7 separate regions of the Homo sapiens genome follow, and all the other regions are linked to region 7. The links are contacts of gene promoters, found by promoter capture Hi-C in human tissues and cell types (Jung and others, 2019). All regions are on one chromosome and are shown on one strand. Each heading gives the region's core, a stretch centred on a gene start or on the middle of the fragment in contact. The rest is flanking DNA. Distances are from core to core; before and after follow the strand shown.

The links. The method cuts DNA at HindIII sites, captures the fragments that hold promoters and counts their contacts. A contact is called where the count stands out against the background at its distance.
Region 1: a fragment that was not itself captured here is called in contact with the fragment with the promoter of DDA1 in region 7 in 2 of the 25 tissues and cell types used here (dorsolateral prefrontal cortex and thymus).
Region 2: a contact is called between a fragment that was not itself captured here and the fragment with the promoter of DDA1 in region 7, in 1 of the 25 tissues and cell types used here (aorta).
Region 3: a contact is called between the fragment with the promoter of MED26 here and the fragment with the promoter of DDA1 in region 7, in 1 of the 25 tissues and cell types used here (spleen).
Region 4: a contact is called between the fragment with the promoter of IL12RB1 here and the fragment with the promoter of DDA1 in region 7, in 1 of the 25 tissues and cell types used here (dorsolateral prefrontal cortex).
Region 5: a contact is called between the fragment with the promoter of SLC35E1 here and the fragment with the promoter of DDA1 in region 7, in 1 of the 25 tissues and cell types used here (pancreas).
Region 6: the fragment with the promoter of MPV17L2 here is called in contact with the fragment with the promoter of DDA1 in region 7 in 1 of the 25 tissues and cell types used here (thymus).

Annotation. Positions count from the first base shown.
Region 1 is chr19:17,953,747-17,956,890 of GRCh38, forward strand. It overlaps a transcript of KCNN1 not described here. Among named protein-coding and RNA genes, the nearest start is that of KCNN1, 12 kb to the right of the region's middle. The HindIII fragment of the contact is 4,437 bases long and covers 1-3,144 here.
Region 2 is chr19:16,676,016-16,679,229 of GRCh38, forward strand. The region is part of intron 1 of TMEM38A (transmembrane protein 38A); the gene reads left to right. Among named protein-coding and RNA genes, the nearest start is that of TMEM38A, 16 kb to the left of the region's middle. The HindIII fragment of the contact is 4,607 bases long and covers 1-3,214 here.
Region 3 is chr19:16,626,291-16,629,497 of GRCh38, forward strand. MED26 (mediator complex subunit 26) reads right to left here and starts at 1,914. Exons shown (of 3, transcript NM_004831.5): 1 at 1,582-1,914. The coding sequence starts at 1,653. It overlaps LOC105372296 (a long non-coding RNA gene), which reads left to right and starts at 2,142. Exons shown (of 2, transcript XR_936361.3): 1 at 2,142-2,958; 2 at 3,069-3,207. RefSeq lists silencers at 1,778-1,837, 1,938-2,197, 2,448-2,527 and enhancers at 2,042-2,973, 3,078-3,127. The HindIII fragment of the contact is 10,464 bases long and covers 1-3,207 here.
Region 4 is chr19:18,085,280-18,088,545 of GRCh38, forward strand. IL12RB1 (interleukin 12 receptor subunit beta 1) reads right to left here and starts at 1,655. Exons shown (of 17, transcript NM_005535.3): 1 at 1,481-1,655. The coding sequence starts at 1,544. RefSeq lists enhancers at 1,567-1,916, 1,927-1,986. The HindIII fragment of the contact is 62,137 bases long and covers 1-3,266 here.
Region 5 is chr19:16,570,318-16,573,936 of GRCh38, forward strand. It overlaps SLC35E1 (solute carrier family 35 member E1), which reads right to left and starts at 2,098. Exons shown (of 6, transcript NM_024881.5): 1 at 1,627-2,098; 2 at 1,195-1,265. The coding sequence starts at 2,047. It overlaps LOC105372295 (a long non-coding RNA gene), which reads left to right and starts at 2,233. Exons shown (of 3, transcript XR_936360.3): 1 at 2,233-2,491. RefSeq lists silencers at 1,465-1,594, 1,755-1,864, 1,995-2,214 and enhancers at 2,133-3,007, 2,315-2,404. The HindIII fragment of the contact is 29,713 bases long and covers 1-3,497 here.
Region 6 is chr19:18,191,872-18,195,024 of GRCh38, forward strand. It overlaps MPV17L2 (MPV17 mitochondrial inner membrane protein like 2), which reads left to right and starts at 1,347. Exons shown (of 5, transcript NM_032683.3): 1 at 1,347-1,597; 2 at 1,993-2,163; 3 at 2,906-2,982; 4 at 3,087-3,153. The coding sequence starts at 1,411. RefSeq lists a silencer at 872-1,051 and an enhancer at 1,442-1,491. The HindIII fragment of the contact is 8,354 bases long and covers 1-3,153 here.
Region 7 is chr19:17,307,838-17,311,267 of GRCh38, forward strand. DDA1 (DET1 and DDB1 associated 1) reads left to right here and starts at 1,726. Exons shown (of 5, transcript NM_024050.6): 1 at 1,726-1,820. The coding sequence starts at 1,818. RefSeq lists enhancers at 1,029-1,590, 1,312-1,501, 1,591-2,154 and a silencer at 1,942-2,041. The HindIII fragment of the contact is 11,596 bases long and covers 1-3,430 here.

The DNA.
Region 1 (3,144 bases), core at 62-2,561, 650 kb after region 7:
ACTGAAACCCTGTCTCTACAAAAAATTAAAAAAATTAGCCAGGTGTAGTGGTGCACACTTGTAGTCCAAGCTACTTGGGGGCCGAAGGTGGGAGGATCGCTTGAGCCCGGGAAGTCAAGGCTGCAGTGAGCCATGTTCATGCGACTGCACTCCAGCCTGGGTGACAAAATGTCACCTCCCTGAATGTCACCCACCTAGATCTCCCCATGGCGAAGGAACTAGGGGCAATGTGAGGGGGTGAGCAGGAACAGCATTGGGAAAGACAGATAAAGCATTCAGTGTCTAGCTTCTGGAGCCCAGTGAAAGGAGGAGTGGCCTTAGGGAGGGGACATGGAAGAGGTGGGGCTAGCCCAGGGCCCCATTGGAGTGATAAAGCCACTGTTCTTAAGCTTCCTGAAAGCTTAGGAGATGACCCAGCTCAGCAACACCAAGCCAGAGCGCAGATCTGCTGTAAAGACCATTGTACGTAATAGGCTGAAGCAGGTGAATCACCTCTGGCCAGGAGTTCAAGTCCAGCCTGGCCAACACAGCAAAACCCCATCTCTACTAAAAATACAAAAAGTAGCCGGGCATGGTGGCAGGCACCTGTAATCCCAGATGCTTGGGAGGCTGAGGCAGGAGAATTGTTTGAACCCTGGAGGCGGCAGTTGCAGTGAGCTGAGATCACATCACTACACTCCAGCCTGGGTGACAGAGCAAGACTCTGTCTCAAAAAAATAAAAAATAAGAAAGACCACTGTAGTCCGGGAGCTGTCTGCACCCTACTCTTTTGGGTCCCCGCCTCCACCCCGCACCCCCTGTCTGATCATTACAGATCTCAAAGGGACAGGAAAGGCAGCAGCAGCCACCCTCTCTCCCAGTCAAGTGGTCACCAGCAGGACTGAAGGGGACAGCCCCTTTGCAGTGGCTCGGCGAGGAGACCCCTGCACCCTAGGGTGAGTGAATCCCAGACTTGGGTCGCCTTTGGGGGTGGGGGTGGCTCAGGGGTTGGATAGAAAAATTGGTAACTGGGCAGGCTAGGTGGCTCACGCCTGTAATCCCAGCACTTTGGGAGGCTGAGGCAGGTGGATCACTTGAGGTCAGGAGTTTGAGGCCAGTTTGGCCGACATGGCGAAACCCCGTGTCTACTAAAAATACAAAAATTGCCCGGGGATGGTGGTGGGCACCTGCAATCCTAGCTACTTGGGAGGCTGAGGCAGGAGGACCACTTGAATCCGGGAGGCAGAGGTTGCAGTGAGCCAAGATCGCGCCACTGCACTCCAGCCTGGGCGACAGAGCAAAGCTCTGTTTCAAAAAAAAAAAAAAAAAGGTGACCTGAGGAAAAAGTGCCAGCTTTTGAAATAATAACAAGCTGGGTACAGTGGCGTGCACCTGTGGTCCTAGCTACTCGGAAGGCTAAGGTGGGAGTATCGAGTCCAGGAGTTCGAGGCTGCAGTGAGCTATGATCACGCTTGTGAATGGCCACTGCACTCCAGCCTAGGCGACAGAGCGAGACCCCCATCTCTTTAATTAAAAAAAAAAAAAAGAAAAAAGGCCAGACGTGGTGGCTTACGCTTGTAATCCCAGCACTTTGGGAGGCCAAGGCAGGCAGATCACCTGAGGTCAGGAGTTCGAGACCAGCCTGGCCAACAGGGTGAAACCCCCATCTCTACTAAAAATACAAAATTAGCCAGGCATGGTGCTGCATGCCTGTAATCCCAGCTACTTGGGAGGCTAAGGCAGGAGAATCACTTGAACCCAGGAGGCGGAAGTTGCAGTGAGCCGAGATTGTGCCATTGCACTCCAGCCTGGGCAACAAGAGTGAAACTCCATCTCCAAAAAAAAAAAAAAAAAGAAAGAAAGAAAAAAAATAATAATATAATTATTATTATATCATATATATCATGATGATGATAGCAAGGACTATGCTTTCTAGAGCCTCCGGGGAGTTACTGTCCACTTTCTTTGATCACTGGAGTTGGGGAAACTATTCAGAGAGGCCAGATGACCTAGAAGTGGGGTGTTGAGCCAGGTTGGAAGAGCTCTGTCCCACCACTCCCGCCCCCGCCCCCCACACACAGCCTCTACTTCCCGGCTCTCGTGGTCTCGCTGGAGACAGCCCCCAGGGTAGGCCAGCTCTGTGGAAGGCAGCTCCTGTGCTCCTTTCTCCAGTGAACTTTTTTTTTTTAGTTTTGTTTTGTTTTGTTTTGTTTGTTTGTTTTGAGACAGAGTCTGACTCTGTCGCCCAGGCTGGAGCGCAGTGGCATGATCTTGGCTCACTGCAACCTCCACCCTCCACCCCACCGGGTTCAAGCGATTCTCCTGCTTCAGCCTCCCAAGTAGCTGGGATTACAGGCATGCGTCACCACGCACAGCTAATTTTTGTGTTTTCAGTAGAGATGGGGTTTCCCCATGTTGGCCGGGCTGGTCTCGAACTCCTGACCTCAGGTGATCCACCTGTCTTGGCCTCCCAAAGTGCTGGGATTGCAGGCGTGAGCCACTGAGCCAGGCCTCCTTGGTGAACACTGACTGACATCCAGGGTCAGCACTAAGCTGCCCATGGGGGTGTGGAGAAAACAGAGGTGGTGGTCATTTAGTCAATCAACAAACACTGAGCAAGCTAGCTACTGTCTGCCAGGCCCTAGGCTGGATGCTGGGATGCAATAAGGACAAAGGCCAGCCCAGGTCAGCCCTTGTGGAATTTCATGGGGCATCAATTAAGCTTAAGTGTTTTGTGCTGGATACAGTGGCTGATGCCTGTGATCCCAGAACTTTGGGAGGCCAAGACAGGAGGATCACTTGAGCTCAGGAGCTTGAGACCAGCCTGGGCAATGTAGCAAGAACCCATCTCTACAATTTTTTTTTTTTTAAATTAACCAGTGGGGTGGTGCATGTGTGTGGTCCCAGCTACTCTGGAGGCTGAGATGGGGGGATCACTTGAGCCCAAGAGGTCGAGGATACAGTGGGCTATGATTGAACCACTGTACTGTAGTCTGGGTGACAGTGAGACTCTGTCTCAGAAAGAAAGCGAGAAAGAGAGAAAGGGGGCCAGGTGTGGTGGCTCATGCCTGTAATCCCAGCACTTTGGGAGGCCGAGGTGGGCGGATAATGAGGTCTGGGGATAGAGACCATCCTGCATGGTGAAACCCCGTCTCTACTAAATAC
Region 2 (3,214 bases), core at 370-2,869, 630 kb before region 7:
TAGACAAAACTGATTATTTCTTTTGCTTAGTCTTTTGATTTGACTAATAAGAGATCACATTTTGGCCGGGCGCGGTGGCTCACACCTGTAATCCCAGCACTTTGTGAGGCCGAGGCAGGCGGATCACGAGGTCAGGAGATTGAGACCATCTTGGCTAACACAGTGAAACCCCGTCTCTACTAAAATTACAAAAAATTGGGCGTGCTGGCGGGTGCCTGTAGTCCCAGCTACTAGGGAGGCTGAGGCAGGAGAATGGCATGAACCTGTGAGGCGGAGCTTGCAGTGATCTGAGATTGCGCCACTGCACTCCAGCCTGCGGGACAGAGCGAGACTCCATCTCAAACAAAAAAAGAGAGAGATTACATTTTGTGACCTTGTTATCTCATGTCAATACTGACTGTAGTTTTCATTTCATTAGAATAAGTTGTATTAGGGGAATCGTTGGTTTTGGCTCTGGTCATGTAATGTACAGAGTAGCTGTACCTTACAACTTGATCATAAAGTTGTTCTCTGCAAAACGAAACTAGTTGGGAAAGACAGAATCAATATGATGAAAGAAGTGGTCATACCAGGAGACACAAGTTCTAACTCCAAGGTGTGGCCTTAGAAGATTACGAAGATACAACATAAGGATAGAACTATTTATAAAGATTATAAAGGCTTTACATGAGTAATACAAGATGCAAGGATTTAGTGAATAGACATTAATACTGTACCCCGAGTGTTGCATTTTCATGACCTTTTTTTTTTTTTTTTTTTTTGAGAGGTAGTCTCGCTGTTGTTGGCCTGGGCTGGAGGGCAATGGCACGATCTCAGCTCACTGCAACCTCTGCCTCCTAGGTTCCAGCAATTCTCTTGACTCAGCCTCCCGAGTAGCTGAGATTAAAGGCGCCCACCACCACGCCTGGCTAATTTTTGTATTTTTAGTAGAGATGAGGTTTCACCATGTTGGCCAGGCTGGTCTTGAACTCCTGACCTCAGGTGATCCACCCACCTCGCCCTCCCAAAGTGCTGGGATTACAGGCATGAGCCACCGTGCCCAGCCCTTTTTTTAAAAAGAAAAAAAAAAAAAAAGCCCAGCTATAGGACCTAAGGACTCAGCAATGGGGTTTTCAAGCCCCCTTCTTTTTAATATGGAATTTTAAAATACTTCTTATCTTGGAAGAGTTTATGACTCACAAGAAGTTGCAAAAATGGTACAGAGAATTTGCAAATACCCTTTACCCAGCTTCCTCCAATGACATCTTATGTAATGATAGTGCATTATTAAAACCAGGAAATTGGCATGGGTACACTATCATTAACTCAACTACAGACTTTATATATTTATTATTTTTGAGACAGAGTCTCATTCTGTCACCCAGGCTGGAGTGCAGTGGTGCACTCATGGCTTACTGCAGCCTCAAACTCTTGGGTTCAAGTGATCCTCCCAACTCAACCTCTTGAGTAGCTGGGACTACAGGTGCATGCCACCATGCCCAGCTAATTAGAAAAAATTTTTTGTAGAGATGGGGTCTCACTGTGTTGCCCAGGCTGGCCTCCCCTCCCCTTCCCTCCCTTCCCCTCCCCTCTCAACAGGGTCTTGCTCTGGAGTGCAGTGGCATGCTCATGACTCACTGCAGCCTCCACCTCACCAGCTCAAGTGATCTTCCTACCTCAGCTTCCCGAGTAGCTGGGACTACAGAAGCATGCCACCACGCCCAGCTAATTTTTAAAATTTTTTGCAGAGGTGGGGTCTCACTATGTTGCCCATGTTGGTCTCGAACACCCAGGCTCAAGTGATCTACGTGGCTCAGCCTCCCAGAGTGTTGGGATTACAAGTGTGAGCCACCGTGCCCAGCCCGGAAATAAAAGCTTAATACATGCTACAATGGGGATGAAGCTTGAGGACATTATGCTCAATAAGCCACACAAAACAACAAAGTTTGTATGGTTTCGCTTACATGAGATTCCTAAAGTCATCAATTTCATAGAGACAGAAAGTAGAATGGTGCCAGGGGCTAGGCGATGGGGGATGAGGAGTGAGTGTTTAATAGGTTTCAGTTTGGGAAGATGAAAGAGTTTTGGAGATGGTTGGTGGTGATTATGGCAAAACAATGTGAATATAATGCCATAGAACCACACACTTGGCCAGCCACTTGGCAGTGGCTCATGCCTGTAATCCCAGCACTTTGGGAGGCCAAGGTGGGCAGATCACAAGGTCAAGAGATTGAGACTATCCTGGCCAACATGGTGAACCCCCATCTCCACTAAAAATACAAAAATTAGTTGGGCGTGGTGGCGCATGCCTGTAATCCCAGCTACTCGGGTGGCTGAGGCAGGAGAATCACTTGAACCCGGGAGGAGGAGGTTGCAGTGAGCCGAGATCGCGCCACCGCGCTCCAGCCTGGTGACAGAGTGAGACTCTGTCTCAAAAAAAAAAAAAAAAAAAAAGAGCTATACACTTAAAAATGTTTAAAATGGGCTGGGCATGGTGTCTCACGTCTATAATCCCAACTCTTTGGGAAGCTGAGCCAGGTGGATGGCTTGAGCCCAGGAGTTTGAGACCAGCCTGGGCAACATGGCGAAACCCCGTGCCTACTTTAAATATACAAAAAATTAGCCTGGCATGGTGGCGCGCGTGCCTGTAGTCCCAAATACTTTCGAGGCTGAGGTGGGAGGAGTGTTTGAGCCCAGGAAGTCAAGGCTGCAGTGAGTCGTGATTGCACCACTGCGCTCCAGGCTGGGTGATGGGAGTGAAACCCTGTGTCCAAAAAAAAAAAAAAAAAAAAAAAGTAAAGTGATAAATTTAATGTATATTTTACAAAAAAAAATTCTTTTTAAGACAGCAGGTGTAAGAATACCAGCATAAGGCTGGGCACGGTGACTCATGCCTGTAATCCCAGCACTTTGGGAGGCTGAGGTGGGAGGTTCACTTGAGTCCAAGAGTTGGAGACCAGCTTGGCCAACATGGTGAAACCCCTTCTCTACTGAAAATACAAAAATTAGCCAGGCATGGTGGTGGCTGCCTGTGATCCCAGCTACTCGGGAGTCTGAGGCAGGAGGATCGCTTGAACCTGGGAGGCAGAATTTGCAATGAGCTGAGATTGCACCATTGCACTCCAGCCTGGGTGACAGAGTGACACTCTGTTTGAAACAAACAAAAAAAGTTAAAAAAAAAAAAAAAAAAGAATACCAGCATAAGCTCATAGGGATCTTGGGATCAGCTGAGGTC
Region 3 (3,207 bases), core at 664-3,163, 680 kb before region 7:
AAGATGCACAAGTCACCAAGGCTATTTTTTTCATGTCACTAGTTTTATCCTCTAATATTTCAGTCTTAAAATTGCAGTGACACCAGTTACTGCAAAAAGGACATTCTAGAAGGTTTTATATAGCTTGTGCCCACTCCACCCCCAAAGTCATAACAAAAATGTACAATATAACATTTGTTAAAGACAATTACCATCAAGTCAATGTTAATGGGACCTGAATACCAGGGATAAGAGAAGTACTTATATCACAGCAACCAGAGCCTTCGAAAAAACTCATAACCCTTCAGTCTTAACCAAAAATTGTATAAGCCAATGTGAATTATTCCCAAAACATCATCAGAGTGAAGCATATTGCTAAGAGTAATCAGCCAAGCTCATGTAAAAATGAAAGCAAAAACCCCTACGGTGAGAGAAACCTGAGTTACCTGGCCAAGCCAAAGATGATATTTTTCTTCCATTCACAGCACATTAAAAAGTGATCTCAATGGCCACTTCCTGGGAAGCAGGGCCTCCCCTCATACCTGGATGCTACTGCATCTTCCTACCGCCCTGCTCCTGCCGCGGGAAGAATGACCCCTACTGCCAAGAAACTCTTGGAGAAAATATGAGAATAGATCAGTCTTCCCCCCCACCCCCCCACCCCCGCAACAACACACACACACACACGGAAGGGGAGGGGGCGGTCCCTCCGCAAACAGTAGCCTCAGCAAAGGGGCACCCGAGGAAGCGACACTCTGGAGTTAACCCCGACAGTCTGGGTCAAAAACCACCAGGCTGAGACCCCCAGGTGAGGGAAAGAGCCTACTGAAACAGAGCTCTTGGGTAAACGGGAGAGAAAAGTCCTCTTTAATTCACTACCTAAAAAATGGAGCTCTGGCTTGGTCAGAGACGCAATGGGTACTGAGGCCCAGAAAGGCAACAGGAAGGATCCCACCCTCCCCGAGATCATCTATCGTCGGCAGCGACCCCAAGAGGGTTTTGGCAAAGGCGTGTCTAGTCACAGAAGGGAGACAGACTCTCCACGTACCCTAGGTACCCGGCCAGGGGCAAAACAGACTGGGGGTTCTCTCCGAAGCCAGGAAGGTGCTGCCAGCCGAGAGGAGGGGGAAGAAGGACTTCCCTGATCACCCAGGAGGCCAAGACATGGGAGACATAGGTTCCCCGAGTCATACCCCGGACACCAGTTGCTTCACAGCCCTTCTCCCTCCCCTTCCCGCTCCGGGAGGGCTTCCCGGGGGTCTCGGGTCCCGGAGGGAGGGCGAGGCAGAGAAGCTTCGTCCAGAGCAGTGAGGGTCGTAGAGCTGGAGCAGAAAGGGAGGAAAAACTCTAGCCTCAGCTCCCCCGTCTGCTTCCTCCGCCCAGGCCGCACGGAAGCCTCGGCCTCACGTACCGAGCGCTGCCGGGCTGCCCGACCTGCCCCCGGCCCGGGCCCGAGAAGCGAGAGGCAGGGATGGCAGCGGCCCTCGAGGGGAGGTGGGCGCCAGACGGGTCCCCCGAAGCCCGGTGGGCGAGGGGTACAGGAGAGGGGGAGGGTCCCGGGCCCATGCGGCCTCCGTCCCAGCTCGCGCGGCGGGTACTTACGTTGCTCTGGGGGTCGATGGCCTGCAGCAGCCGGTCCCTGATCTGCTGCGGAGACGCCGGAGCCGCTGTCATTGCCTGGGCGAGGCGGGGGGTTGCGGCCGGGCCAGCGGGCGGGCGGGCTGAGGCGGGGGACGGGGGTCACTCACTCGCCGGCCTCCGGGAGCCGGAGCCGCATGTTCCCCGCGGCGCCGGGGGGTTGGGGGCGCGCGGGGTGGCGGAGAGGGGAGCCGGGGCCGGGTCTCGGTCCCGGGCCGCCGCCGCCACCAAAGGAGGAGGAGGAGCCGCCGGAGCCGCCGCCGCTCGCTGCCGCCGCCTCGAGAACCAAACTCCAGTGAGCTGCCCCCGCGCGGAGTACTCTGGGTAGTCCGCGCCGCACGCAGCGTCGGCGCCACGCTGAGGAGGTTGGGAGATGGGGCGGGCGGAGACGCCAGGCCTGGGCGGGGCTGCCCGTGTGCCACGCCCCGCGCCTCCGCGCAAGCGCGCGCAGGCGCACTCGTCCGCCCGTGACGCCCCGCCCAGCCGCCCGGCCTAGGCAGCCGTTGGGAGGAGGTTGGGCGGGGCAACGGCCCCCGTCCAGGTCACGGGGCGGGGCTTTCTGACGGAAGCGCGCGCGCAAAGAGTCCTTGAACCCGGACGCTCGCAGCGGCTACCTCGGGGCGGGGAGGGCGGCGGGAAAATCCTTCCTCTGGGAGAGCCTTCCCGGCGCGTGACTGGGGGACGGGAGTCGCAGGCTGAGCAGCTGCCGAGTTTTTTGTGAGGGCGAGGGAACCAGACGTCCACGTTGTGATTCTGCGCGCAGAAGGGTCATCGGAGTCCGGGGGTGTCGCCGCGGCCCCCCCGCCCCTCAGAGGGTGTGGGAATGGGTGTGGTGGCAGGGCGGGGGTCTGCACCGCCACGCGCGACCCCGATCGCGAAAACGTGAGGCGGCAAAGCGCCTCTGGCAGAAGCCGCCCGCCGTAGCTGGGAAAGCCGGAGGTTGCAAATCTGCGTCTACGCGGCGGCTTCTCCACCTCGGCACCACTGGCATTTGGGCGGGATCGCTCTGTCTTCGGGGCGGGTCCCCCGATCTGTCGGAAGTTGAGCGGCATCTCTGGCCTCCGAAGCGCCCCCTCCCCCAATCTGCAGTCATTGCCGCCGTCCCTTGTGGGGGCACAGTCCCCCCGCCCCCCCACCGGCAGAGAACCCCGTGATTGAAAGACCCTTCTACCCGCCTCTGCCTTGAGATTCTGTAAAACTGAGATGCTCATTCTCTTAACCAAACACGTCACAGAGGAGGAAACGGAGGCCCAAGGTCACCTAGACTTCGGGGTTAAGCCCAGAACCGCAGATGTCAAGTTTAAGGGCGCCCCTCCTCCCTCCACCCTGTTTATTGCCTTGGTAATTGCTCCCCTCTCTCTGGGAGCTCTGTTGGAAATGCTCTTGTGAGACGGGATGGAAAGGCAAGCTCGGCGGCCTCGGGAGAAATCTTTTTTTTCCCACTGTTACAGGAAGACCTAGATTTAAAACAGGAGGAAGACAGCTGATGAGAACCACATGTGTGCCTTGGAGCTGCCCGACACCTGTTAGTCTTGTATTTGTTGTGCTTCTGGGAAATATTTTCATTTGCAAAAACGGCTGCTTCTGCAC
Region 4 (3,266 bases), core at 405-2,904, 780 kb after region 7:
CTTAACACACAAGGCTCTCCATCCTTCCATCTCTCTCTGTGATGACACAGAACCCCCACCCACCCACCCACCCCTGAGAGCCTAAAGCCCATCCTCCTTCCCTTTCCCTGGACTGACCACTCACTGCCACTATCTCCAGGATACCTCGTGGGCTGCCTCTCGCCCCCTCCCTGCTGCTGGTCTCCAGCCATGCCTGGCCCCTGAAGGCGCTGGGACCTTGAGGTGTGGCCAGCACTGCTGTGGGCATTCTACAGGCACTCAGTGCATCTCAAGAGCCATTGAAAAAGTCAGCACCCCGCTGATCCCCAGTGTACAGAGAAGGAAAGTTTATTTATTATTATTATTATTGAGATAGAGTCTTGCTCTGCCACACAGGCTGGAATGCAGTGCTGCAATCTCGGCTCACTGCAACCTCTGCCTCCTGGGTTCAAGCGATCCTCCCACCTCAGCTCCTAAGTAGCTGGGAGTACAGGTGCCCATCATCAAGCCTGGCTAATTTTTGCATTTTTAGTAGAGATGGGGTTTCACCATGTTAGCCAGGCTGGTCTCGAACTCCTGACCTCAAGTGATCCACCCATCTTGGCCTCCCATAGTGCTGGATTTTCAGGAGTGAGTCACCGTGCAGGGCCTGAGATTATTAAAAGTATATGGGAAGGCTGGGCATGGTGGCTCATGCCTGTAATCTGAGCACTTTGGGAGGCCAAGGTGAGTGGATCATTTGAGCCCAGGAGTTCGAGACCAGCCTGGGCAACACAGCGAGACGCTGTCTCTGTAAAAAGTATACACCAAAAAAATTAACCAGGCATGGTAGTGTGCACCTGCAGTCCCAGCTACTCAAGGGGCTAAGGCAGGAGGATCACTTGAGCCCAGGTGGTCAAGGCTGCAATGAGTTATGATTAGGCCACTGCACTCCAGCCTGGGACACAGAGTGAGACCCTACCTCAGTAAATAAATAAATAAATAAATAAATAAATAAATAAATAAATAAATAAGTAAAGTATACGGAAGGATGTGCATAGGTTATATGCAAATACTTTACCATTTTATATCAGGAACTTGAGCATCTTTGGATTTTGGTATCTGCAGAGGGTCCTGGAACCATTGCCCCGTAAATATGGAAATGACTGTATACATTATATTATGTATGTCTATCTATTGTAAACTACATACATAAGATACTATACTATGTATACCTATTAGATACATACTTGCTTTTTATTCCTTCCTTAGTTTTTTTTCTCATTGAACTCCGGGAGGTGGAAAAAATTTAGTGCATTTCACAGAAGAGAAAATCTAGACCAGAGGAAAGATGTCTAAGTTCGATCCCAGAAGCCATGACTGCCCATCTCCCATTTGACAGCAGGAAAGACTGAGGCACAGAGAGATGAAACCAACCCACACAGCAGGCCCACAGCTCTCCACACATACACGTGCCTCCACCCAGCAAGAGGAGCCGCCATGCCAGGGTCAGGGGACTCACCGCCCTGCCTGGACAGCAGGAAGAGGAAGAGGAGGGGGACCACCCAGGTCACCAGCGGCTCCATCGGATCCACGTAGAGCCCCACAGCCCCAGGGGAGCCTCTCTGCCACCTGCGAGGTTCAGCCACCCCGTCCCCACTCCGGAACACATTGAAGCTGAGCAAGGAGAAAAGACTGAAAAAAAAGAAAAAAGAAAAAAAGTAAAGTGTCACAGCCCATCCCTAAGGCAAGTCAAAGTGAAAGAGAAACCCAGGAAGTCAGCTCCGTGGTGGTGGTGATGGTGGCGGCCACAGACTCTGGAGCAAGTCTGACTTTGGAGCAAGTCAGGGTTCTAGGGGGTTCTGCCCTGCTGGCCCCAGACCTGAACTGAACACCCAGATGCCAGCCCCATGGGCCCATGGGCCACCTGTGGTTCCATGCACTTGGCCAGGTCTCTGGCCCTCTCTAGCCAATTTTTTTTTTTTTTTTTGAGATGGAGCCCTGCTCTGTCGCCCGGGCTGGAGTGTGGTGGCATGATCTCCACTCACTGCAACTTCTGCCTCCCGGGTTCAAGCAATTCTCCTGCCTCAGCCTCCCGAGTAGCTGGAATTACAGGCAACTGCCACAACATCGAGCTAATTTTTGTATTTTTAGTAGAGACAGGGTTTCACCATGCTGGCCAGGCTGGTCTCGAACTCCTAACCCTAAGTGATCCACCCACCTCAGCCTCCCAAAGTGCTGGGATGACAGGCGTGAGCTACCGTGCCTGGCTGCCAAATTCTTTTTTTCTTCTTTTGAGATAGGGTCTTGATCTGTGGCCCAGCTGTAGTGCAGTGGTGCAATCACGGCTCACTGCAACATCAACCTCCCCAGGCTCAGGCCATCCTCCTACCTCAGCCTCCCCAGGAACTGGGACTACAGGCATGCACCACCACGCCCAGCTAATTTTTGCATTTTTTTTTTTTTAAGAGAGGGGGTTTTGCCATGTTGCCCAGGCTGGTCTCAAACTCCCGGGTTCAAATGATCCGTCCGCCTTGGCCTACCAAAATTCTGGGATCACAGGCGTGAGCCACCGCACCGGGCCATCTCGCCAGCTTCTGAATCTGAGACTCAAGAGCTGAAGGAGGGCAGTGTTCTTGGATGGCCTAATTTCATCCTTCCAACAAATTGTTACAAAGAGCTTGCAGCATGCTGGCCCTCCACAATGCCCACCTCCCCACATGCCAAGCTCCAGCCTTGTGCACCTGGGCTCACCCCTCTAATCCCAGCACTTTGAGAGGTCGAGGTGGGAGGATCACTTGACCCCAGGAGTTTGGGTCTACCTAAACAACATAGCAAGACCCCATCTCTATAAAAAATAAAGAATTAGGCCAGGCGCGGTGGCTCACGCCTGTAATCCCAGTACTTTGGGAGGCCAAGGCAGGTGGATCACGAGGTCAGGAGTTTGAGACCAGCCTGACCAAAATGGTGAAACCCTGTCTCTACTGAAAATACAAAAATTAACCGGGTGTGGTGGCAGGCACCTGTAATCCCAGCTACTGAGGAGGCTGAGGCAGGAGAATCGCTTGAACCCAGGAGGTGGAGGTTGCAGTGAGCCGAGATCGCGCCACTGCACTCCAGCCTGGGCAACAGAGTGACACTCCATCTCAAAATATATATATATATATAAATTAAAAGTTAGCCAGTCGTGGTGGCACACATCTGTATTCTCAGCTACTCAGGAGGCTGAGGTGGGAGAATGGCTTGAACCCAGGAGGTTGAGGCTGCAGTGAATCGTGATTGTGCCACTGCACTCCAGTCTGGGTAAC
Region 5 (3,619 bases), core at 848-3,347, 740 kb before region 7:
CTTGCTGAGACAAAGACAGGCAGGAATAAAAAAAAATCAGCCATAGGTGGCCCAATTTCTATAAGCCGATCCAGGGCACTACCTCTCTGAGTTACATAAAATACAACATGCCAGAAACCAACCACTTGGAAAAGAGGCACGGTGTCCAGCATCAGCATGAAATGGATTCCGGCTGAGACAACAAGCGCCCAACTTCCACTTAAGAATACGGGATAAAGCTGTCTCCGGCTAAAGCCATGGCTATTCTTGCCCCAAGCCAGGAAATACCCTGGCTTGGCATCTTGAACAGAATTTGGACTGTGCCCAAAGCATCCTCCTTATGCAGCCCTGAGTCCTGTGTGCCACTTTCGCTTCCGTTCCCAGACCATCACAACTTCTGGCTGTTTTAATTTCTAAGACTTTGCTGGATTTTGCCAAGATCGAACTCCTTGGATCGCGTCTGGCTTCTGATCCCAGAGGTCCCCTGACAGAAATCTCTTGTCAAGAAGTGAAAACCTAGCCAAGTGCAGTGGCTGACGCCTGTAATACCAGCACTTTGGGAGGCTGAGGCGGACGGATCACTTGAGGTCAGGAGTTTGAGACCAGCCTGGCAACATGGTGAAACCCTGTCTCTATTAAAAATACAAAAAAATTAGCCAGGTGTGGTAGTGCACGTCTGTAGTCCCAACTACTTGAGAGGCTGAGGCAGGAGAACTGCTTGAACCTGGGAGGCGGAGGTTGCAGTGAGCTGAGATTGTGTCACTGGACTTCAGGCTGGGCAAGAGTAAAACTCCGTCTCAAAAAAAAAAAAAAAAAAGTGAACACCTAACCGACAGCGTTCTGATCCATCCATCCCTAGTCCCACTGGAAAGGCCACACATGGGGTGTATGGCCAAGATGTGACCAACCCATCACCTACCAGCAAACCCAGGTAGGGAATCAAAACGGGGAGGAAAATTGGATCTGAAAGGGACAACAGTGTTCCTAAGACCACACAGCAGAGATCACAGAGGGACACATACTCCACACACCACTGCTCACAGGGTGATTCTAGAACTTGAGTAGTAAAAGGCCACTGGAGACCTCTACACTGACTTCCCTATTTGACGGGAAGCCAGGCAGCCTGCAGACCAGGATCCTGACCACGTCACCAGTTGGCAACAGGGAGGAACCCCCTGGAGCTCCCATCTGCCCAGAGTCCCTGCCCGGGGTTACCTTGGTGCTCTGCTTCTCCTTCATAATGATCCGGGACAGGAGGACCACCCAGATGGGCATGGTGGCCTTGACTGCAAAGAGAGGGATGGGCACTCAGGGGGCTGCCTGAATTTCAGGGCCCAACCTGTTCCACCTCCACGGCGGGATGGGAGGGCCTGGCAGCCCCTCACACCTCTTCGCCCCTTCTCTTTCGGTAGGGCTTCCTCCTGCCACGGCTGTTGTGGTCTGTCCTGCTTACCTCTCAGCTCTCTTCTCAGCTCCTCTTCTCCCTGAGAACCCCGTGCGTGTCCCTCCCCTACCAAACCCTTGGCAGCCCCTCTGCTGACTTCTCAGTCCGGCGGGACGCGCCCCGGGCGGCGCACTCCTATCCATGCGCCCAAACCCGAAGCGGCGGGCCCGGCCGCCGCCCCCGAGGCCGGGCGCGGAACCTACCGGTGTGTGCATAGGACACGGGCACCTTCCAGATGCTGACGTGCGCTGACACGGACGCGAAGTACTTGCCGAAGGCGAGCGGTAGCACGTAGCGCGGGTAGAAGCGCGGCGGCAGCAGCGGGCCGGACGACGGATGCGGACTGGGTCCGGGGCCCGAGACGGGCGGCGCGGGGGGCACGCGCCAGGCGCGCAGCAGCGGCGGGAGCCCAGCGCACAGAGCCAGGATGTGGCACAGCGACACGGTCACCGGGAACGGGAAGGCGCTCAGGATCACCTTGTTGACCACGTTGCCGCCCGCGCTCAGCGCGTACCACAGCAGGCACAGCGCCGCCACCCGCGCGCCCTCGCGCGCCCCACCACTGCTGCTCGCTGCGCCCGGGCCCCCCGCGCCGTGGCCCGCGCCCACCGCGGCCGCCGCCATCCTGCCCGAGCGGCCGCCCCTTCCAGCCCGTCCGACGGCCCGACGCCGGGCGGGGGCGGGGCTGGGCGGGGGGGCAGGCGCCCCGGTCTACGCCGTTTCCCATTGGTCGCTGCCTCCTCGCGTCATCCCTCCGCGCCGGCCGACGCGCCAGCCACCACGTCTCGAGTGCAGGCCCAGTCCACTGTAGATGCGCTTCCGGCGGAGCCGAGGCCGGAAGCGGAAGAAGGGGACACAGACCTGCGTCCAAGCTGTGCCACCTGAGACGTGGGCGGTCCCAGTGACCGGGAGCCGGAGCTCGAACGGGACGGGCGAACAGAAGCGCGGAGGGCTTCGCAGCGTCGGCGTCTGTGCGTGGGCCAAACATCAGGGCCTCGACCAGGGATACAAGGGCAACCGCTAACTAGATTCCTGATTCCTGATGGCTGGCGGCGGCTGACACCAAAGGTAAAAGGCCTTTTAGGGAAAGAAACCATTTGTGAAAAGCTCTTGGGCTAAACTCGCTCTGCAAACTGGGGGCGCACGCTCGTGGCCAAACTCTGGCAGTGGGACTATCCCGGAGCACCCGATCCCTGGAATCATGTTCTGGAAACCACCGCGACGTGCGCAGTTCTCGGGCGTGGCCCTGGTATCATCCCACTGAATCCTAGGAACGCGGTGCGGTAGGTATCACTGTCCGCATTTCACAGACCGAAGTCCAGAATGGGGAAGCGACTTGTCTTAGGCTTCCTGGCCACACTGGGGACCGTGGTCATGGTAGCGTCCTTGGACACCTGTCTCCAAGGCTCTGCAGAAGGGGGAGGTGCCGGGCCCTGACGGCTGATGTCCAAGGACCAGCCGGGATGGACCAGCCCCAGGAGGCCCCAGTGGAGGAAAACAGGACGAGGTTTTCAGTAAGATGATCTTATACTAATTCAAGGGCTATAATTTGTTCTCCACATCGTGTGCCTCCAACTTTTTCGGGGAAAGGGTGTTAAAATTCCGTTACAGTGTTTTTACTTGTCAAATTAGAAGCAGCAACCGGCTGGGTGCAGTGAGTCAAGCTTGGAATCCCAGCACTTTGGGAGGCCAAGGTGGGCGGATTGCTTGAGCTCAGGAGTTGGAGATCGTGGCATCGATAACATGGCAGAACCTCATCTTTGCAAAAAATACAAAAATTAGCCAGGCGTGGTGGCGCACGCCTGTGGTACCCACTACTAGGGAGACTGAGGTGGGTGGATCGGCTTGAGCCCAGGTCAAGGTTCCAGTGAGCTATGATGGCGCCACTGCACTGCAGCCTGGGTGACAGAGCGAGACCCAGTCTCAAAGAAAAGTAGAAAGCAGCAACCCAACTTGGCTCCCCAAATGTTGGAAGGTATCTTAGCTTATCCTTGCATTCTCAAAGGCCCTAGGCCCTTCTGGATACATGGACACAGGCATGGTAGTCCCTGCAGGCAGGGGTAGTGGGGAGCTGCAACCTATCCCAAAACTCTAGAGATGCTGATAGGAGGCCAAGCTCTGCACCCTAATATCCTCCAGCTGTACCCTCTGTGGATCAGAGTAAAGTCACATCCTTGGGACACCATGTCTCAGCAG
Region 6 (3,153 bases), core at 97-2,596, 880 kb after region 7:
ATGAGCAGCACAAAACAGGCAGGGACAGGATTTGGCCCTGAGGCAGGAGAATAGGTCTGGAGGCAGGGAACATAAGGCCAAATCAAATGGAAACAATTCAGCTATGACAGGAAATATCTTCTCCATTTAAAGAGGGCATACATCCAGTAAATGACTTTGTAACTTTACTTCATCCTCTTCATTTACATAGGACGTACATTAAGTAACCAGTGAAAACCTCTAGAGGGCATTTAAACCCCAGAAAATTCTTAAACAGGTCTCTTGAGTCCGTATGCTCCACTGGCTCCCACCCTGCGGAGTGTACTTTCGTTTTCAATAAATCTCTGCTTTTGTTAAGCTTCATTCTTTCCTTGCTTTGTTTGTGCACTTTGTCCAATTCTTTGTTCAAGATGCCAAGAACCTGCACACCTTCAACAGTTAACAGCCCACAGGCAGTAGTTTGCGACTCTAGTAGAGAATGCATAGGGATTTCCATTGAAAATCATTTTTTAAGCCAGTTACGGTGGTTCACGCCTATCATCATCCCAGCACCTTGGGAGGCCAAGGCGGGTGGATCTCTTGAGGTCAGGAGTTCGAGACCAGCCTGGCTAACATGGCAAAACCCCTGTCTAGACCAAAAATACAAAATTAGTTGGGCGTGGTGGCCCGTGCCTGTAATCCCAGCTGTTTGGGAGGCTGCGACACGAGAATCGCTTGAACCCGGGAGGGAGAGGTTGCGGTGAGCCGAGATCGCGCCACCGCACTCCAGCCTGGGTGACAGAGCGAGACTCCATTTCAAAAAAAGAAAAAAAATAATTGTTCCCTACGGGAACGGTATAATTAGGATATAATTGTTTCTGGCCACAGATCACATCCCTTCTGGTTAAGTCCAGGAGAATCTGGAAATACGTAGGGCAACCAGGCCAGAAGGCGTTGTAACTGCCTAAGATTGACCAACCCTAACGCGGGAGGCGGGACGACGGTCACTGATTTGCCAGCGTGACGCCGGTCTGCGACTGGCCAGTGCCGTCCTGGGCGTGTCGGTAGGACGGGGCTGCGACGGTTTCCCATAGGCTGGCACAGAAAGGGGCGGGGAAACAAGAGTGCAACGTTACCAATCGGCATGCGGGACGTAACGCAATTCTTTTTTCCGATTGGTCCGTGAAGCTCGGGAGGTCGTTGGGGGCTCGACCTTGGGATAGAACGCCTGCCTTTTATTGGTCAATACTCTTCGGGCCGGGCAATGTGGCTCCCCGAGGCTGCCTGCGATTGGTGAACGCGTCGCGGCTCGGGGCGGACCTGCGGACTGAAGATCCTTATGCGATTGGCCGGGGAGCCGGAGGGGCGGGCAATTTGGGATCGACAGTGACTCGCGACTGGTCGGCGCGGCGAAAGCAGAGCGGCGCGCCGGTTCCTTGGTTCCTGAGGGCGATGGCGCGGGGTGGCTGGCGCCGGCTACGCCGCCTGTTATCCGCGGGGCAGCTTCTATTCCAGGGCCGCGCGCTGCTCGTCACTAACACGCTGGGCTGCGGCGCGCTCATGGCGGCCGGTGATGGCGTGCGCCAGTCCTGGGAGATCCGCGCCCGGCCCGGCCAGGTTTTCGACCCACGGCGCTCCGGTGAGGACGCCACGCTGCTTAGTCCTTCACCCCGGGCGACCTTTGATCCCGACACCCGACTGCGGGCCGTGACCCCTGACCCGTGGCCTCAGTCCCCCGCAGGACCCTTGCCCTGACCGCGCCTCTCCCCGGGTGTCTGTCTCCCCGCAGCTCTGGGTCTCCATCACCTCCCAACCCCCGGAGGTCTCTGCCCACTACCCAGGAGCCTCTGGAGCCGCGCCTCCTGGTGGGGCTTGTAGTGGAAGAATGCACGGGTGGGCTCTTCCGGTTTTCCCGGTGAGGCTGAGGCTCCGGGATGGCATTGGGCTTACCCAGGCCTTAGCCAGGGAGGGAGAGAGGGAATGGACTGAGGAACTTGCCGGCCCGACCCAGCCCCCTGACTTACACTCTTATAGCGAGCATGTTTGCGGTGGGCTGCAGCATGGGTCCCTTCCTGCACTACTGGTACTTGTCGCTGGACCGCCTATTCCCTGCGTCTGGCCTCCGAGGCTTCCCAAATGTCCTCAAGAAGGTCCTCGTGGATCAGCTGGTAGCCTCTCCATTGCTGGGCGTCTGGTACTTCTTGGGTAAGGAGCCTCCTAAGCCTAGGCTTTGCCTCTCATAGGTCGGGAGGGGTGGAGCCAGCTTTGTGTTAAGAAGGATGCAGAGGTGCATTTCCAATTTGCCCCCTGTTTGGGTCGCCCTGGACTAGGAGCCAGGTCACAGCGGGGACAGGACGGACTCGGCCGATGTGAACGCTGGCGAGTGTAGGAGGGACGAGGACTGTATCTGTTGGGGCTGCCCTGGGCGGGAGGTTGAGAGCATTTCCCAAAGAAGGGGACCACACTCAGTTGAGACATGAAGAGGGAACCAGCGGGCAGAGGGAACAGCTAATGCAAAGGCTCTGAGGCCTGAAGGAAGAGAAATTGAGGCTAGACTTAATGGGGTGCAACCGTGCCAGCCCTAGGCTCGGTAAAGACAGCGGTATTAATAGAGGAGTCTCTCATTCTCCACCTCCCAGCCCGGCTTCCTGGTCTGTGATGGAAAAGTAACACAACTCCCTCAACTTCAGGGTGTCTCCATTGGGGCACGTGTTTATATGTTTATAACCTCTCTTTCTCTCACTGGGACTGACTTGCTCTGTTTTGTCTCTACACCAGCTACCCTAATTCTCTGTCCATCCCATCTGAAAGTCCCTGTCCCTCTGCCCGGGGTGGGCGGCGTGGGCTCTCAGGGGCCCAACCCCGCCCCCTCCATCGTCAGCCCATCTTGTCGTCTCAACAGTACTTCCTGGCCTCTAACACTCTCATTTCTTGGTTTGCTTCCCAGGCCTTGGCTGCCTGGAGGGTCAGACAGTGGGTGAGAGCTGCCAGGAGCTGCGGGAGAAGTTCTGGGAATTCTACAAGGTGGGAGCACCCGCCCCTTGCACATGTCCGGCCCCGCCCCCTGATGGCCGCTCCGCCCCCGCCCAGCTCTGGCCCCGCCCCTCATCCCCCGCCTCTCCCCGCAGGCAGACTGGTGCGTGTGGCCTGCTGCGCAGTTCGTGAACTTCCTCTTCGTGCCCCCCCAATTTCGAG
Region 7 (3,430 bases), core at 476-2,975:
TACTTAGTAGCTTCCACTTAGCAACTTCACTGTGCAATTGCTGTGTGCTGGGTGCCCATTCTTTGCCCTGGAAGTCAGGAAGGCAGTTTGGACACAGAGGTGTCAGGGCTGGGAGGGGGATTGTGAGGGCTGTAGGACTTCAGGGAAGGTACCTGACTTGCCTTTTTGAAGAATGCAGTCAGGGAAGTCTTGGAGGAAATGGCAAGGTCTGGGAGAGCCCAGACATAGAAGGAATTGGTTAGAGGTGAGGACACAGGTGGGCAATGAAGACCGCAGGTGCCCATAAATGGGGCCAAGGAGGTGGGATTGAATACTAGGGAGTTACGGGAGGTGGTTGAGCAAGACGGTGTCGAGGAGGAGCTAGGGAGTGTTATGGTTCTTATCTTCTAGGGCTGCTTTAAAAACGTAATAAACACAAGAAGATGCCGGCACGATGGCTCCCAGAACTTTGGGAAGCCAAGTCTGGAGGATTGCTTGAGGCCAGAAGTTCGAGACCAGCTTGGGAAACATAGCAAGACCCCTGTGTCTTTTTTTTTTTTTTCTTTTGAGAGGGAGTTTAGCTCTTGTTGCCCAGACTGGACTGTAGTGGCTTAATCTCGGCTGACTGACACCTCCGCCTTCTGGTTTTAAGCGATTCTCCTGCCTCAGCCTCTTGAGTAGCTGGGATGACAGGCGCCCGCCACCACGCCCGGCTAATTTTTGTATTTTAGTAGAGATGGGGTTTCACCATGTTGGCCAGGCTGGTCTCAAACTCCTGACCTCGTGATCCGCCCGCCTCGGCTTCCCAAAGTGCTGGGATTGCTGGGATTACAGGCGTGAGCCACCGTGCCCCGCCTTTTTTTTTTTGAGACAGAGTCTCCCTCTGTCCGCCAGGCTGGAGTGCAGTGGCGCGATCTCAGCTCACTGCAAGATCCGCCTCACTCACGGTTCACGCCGTTGTCCTGCTTCGGCCTCCGGAGTAGCTGGGACTACAGGCGTCCGCCACCACGCCCGGCTAATTTTTTGTATTTTTAGTAGAGACGTGGTTTCACCGTGTTAGCCAGGACGGTCTCGATCTCCTGACCTCGTGATCCACCCGCGTCGGCCTCCCAAAGTGCTGGGATTACAGGCGTGAGCCACTGCGCCCGGCTGGCTTTTTTTTTTTTTTTTTGAGACTGATTTTCGCTCTTGTTGCCCAGGCTGGAGTGCAATGGCACGATCTTGGCTCACTGCAACCTCCGCCTCCCGGGTTCAAGTGATTCTCCTGCCTCAGCCTCCCTACTAGCTGGAATTACAGGCGCAGAGATGGGGTTTCACCATGCTGGCCAGGCTGGTCTCGAACTGCTGACCTCAGGCGATCTACCCGCCTCGGCCTCCCAAAGTGCTAAGATTACAGGAGTGAGCCACCGCACCCGGCCGAACCTCGCATCTTAAAAACACACAGACACACAAAAGCTCTAGAGAGCCTCGCGGAGCTGTAAACTACAGCTCCCAAGAGACTTCGCGGCCGAGGCCTCCGCCCACTTCCGGATCTCACTTTCATTGCTTCCAAGTACCGGGAGGTGCTTTGCTTCTTCAACCGAACTTGACCACAATGGGAGGAGGCGTGGCAACCAATGGGCGCATGAGTTAGCTGGATGCGGCCAATGGAAGCGTGCAAAGCGCTCCTATGTGGGGGCGGGGCTAGACTGCACACCAATGACAGGGAGGTGGTGGCGCCATCAGTGTGGGCTGTGCCGTGGCTGGAAGTTACTGTGAGGCGGCGGCTAAGAAGGCGGCTCTGGTGGCGGCGGTGGAGGCTGAGGCGGCGGCCGAGGCGGCGACGGAGGAAACAGAAGATGGTGAGGATGGCCTCCAGGCCCCCACTCCCCCTCTGCTAGACAAAATGGCGCTGTGGTCCCACCCACCTCTAGTATCCCCCTAGGCCCCTCTCCGTTCTGCCCGGTCCCCTCAGGTCCGGCCCGCCCCTCCCACTCACCTGTGACCTTCGACCCCCGGACCCTACCGAGAGCTTCCTGCTGATCCCACTGCCACTCCTTCTCCGACCCCTGACCCCATCCAGGATACCAAGCCCTGACAACTCATTCATTTCCGGGTTGCGGCTCCCCCCGGAAATCGTCTGGGGTGGGGATGGGGTCCCGTAAGACCCCCTGGTCTGGCCTCGTTCTCAGCACGCCGGACCTGGATCTCTTCAGTTCAGGAGAATTTGGGAGGCCGGCCTGGGCCCCGGGGCGGGGGAGGGGGCTTGGCACCGCGATATGCAGGGCTTTGTCGCCAAAGGAAGTGCGACATCGCCGATTGTCCCGGTTCCCCGGGCCCTGACCCCACCTCCACCATTCTGGGCCCTTACCCGCCTCTAAGAATGAAAAACTTTTATCTCCGATCCGCATGGATTGTCCCTGTGAAATGAGGGTAGCAGTAGTCTGAACCTCTTAGGGTGGTGACAATTTAGGTAACTGACGTCGTAAAGGACTCAGGATAGTGAATGCTCAACAGATGAGCTGGGTGACTCGAGGCCAGTGACGTTCTCTTCTAGCTGTCCCCTCATTATGAAGTGTGGATCGTCCCCACCTGGCTGTTGGAAGGTTGAAATTCCTTCAGGGTTCCTCAGTCATCCTGGAATTTGGGTCTGGTGGTTCTTCGGGGTTCAGTCTCCCCACCTGAAAAGTGGGATGGTGACCCACCCTCAGAGTGGAACTAAAGCCTCTCCACAACCCCCATTAGTTGGCATCCTGAGGGCTGGGAAGGGTGATGGGAAGCTTGGTCAAGATACCTCAAGTCTCCTTTGTCCCCTGACCCAGAGTCCCAGCCCACAATCCACAGTCCTTGGGATGTGGTGGGGATGAAAGGAAGACTCCCTTTCAGGAAGGAAATGGGAAGGTGGGTTCCTAGTGTGCGGGTCCCCAAGCCTGGGAGTTGTCCTTGATACCTTGGTACAGTCTCATCCCTACAGCCAATCATAAGTGGATTAGATTGTCTCTGCCTTCTGAACACACCTGAATTCATCCATGGCTTCATGCCCTGTTGCAGGTACTGCCACTTCCCACCTGCATACCTGTCCCAGCTTCTTCCCTGGTCTCCTAGCCTTGCTCTCACCCCTTTGGCAGTTCATAATTCACCTGAACCAGAAGGAACTTTTTTTTTGGAGTCAGGGTCTCACTCTGGCGCCCAGACTGGAGGCTCAAGAGATCCCCACACCAGGCTCATTTTTGTACTTTTTGGAGAGATGGGGATTCCCTATGTTGCCCAGGCTGGTCTCAAACTCCTGGGCTCAAGTGATCCTGCCTCAGCCTCCCAAAGTGCTGGTATTACAGGTGTGAGGCACTGCATGGGGCCTGAGAAGGAGGTTGTTTTTTTTTTTTCTTTTGAGATGGAGTCTTGCTCTGTCGCCCAGGCTGGAGTGCAGTGGCATGATCTCGGCTCACTGGAACCTCCGCCTCCTGGGTTCAAG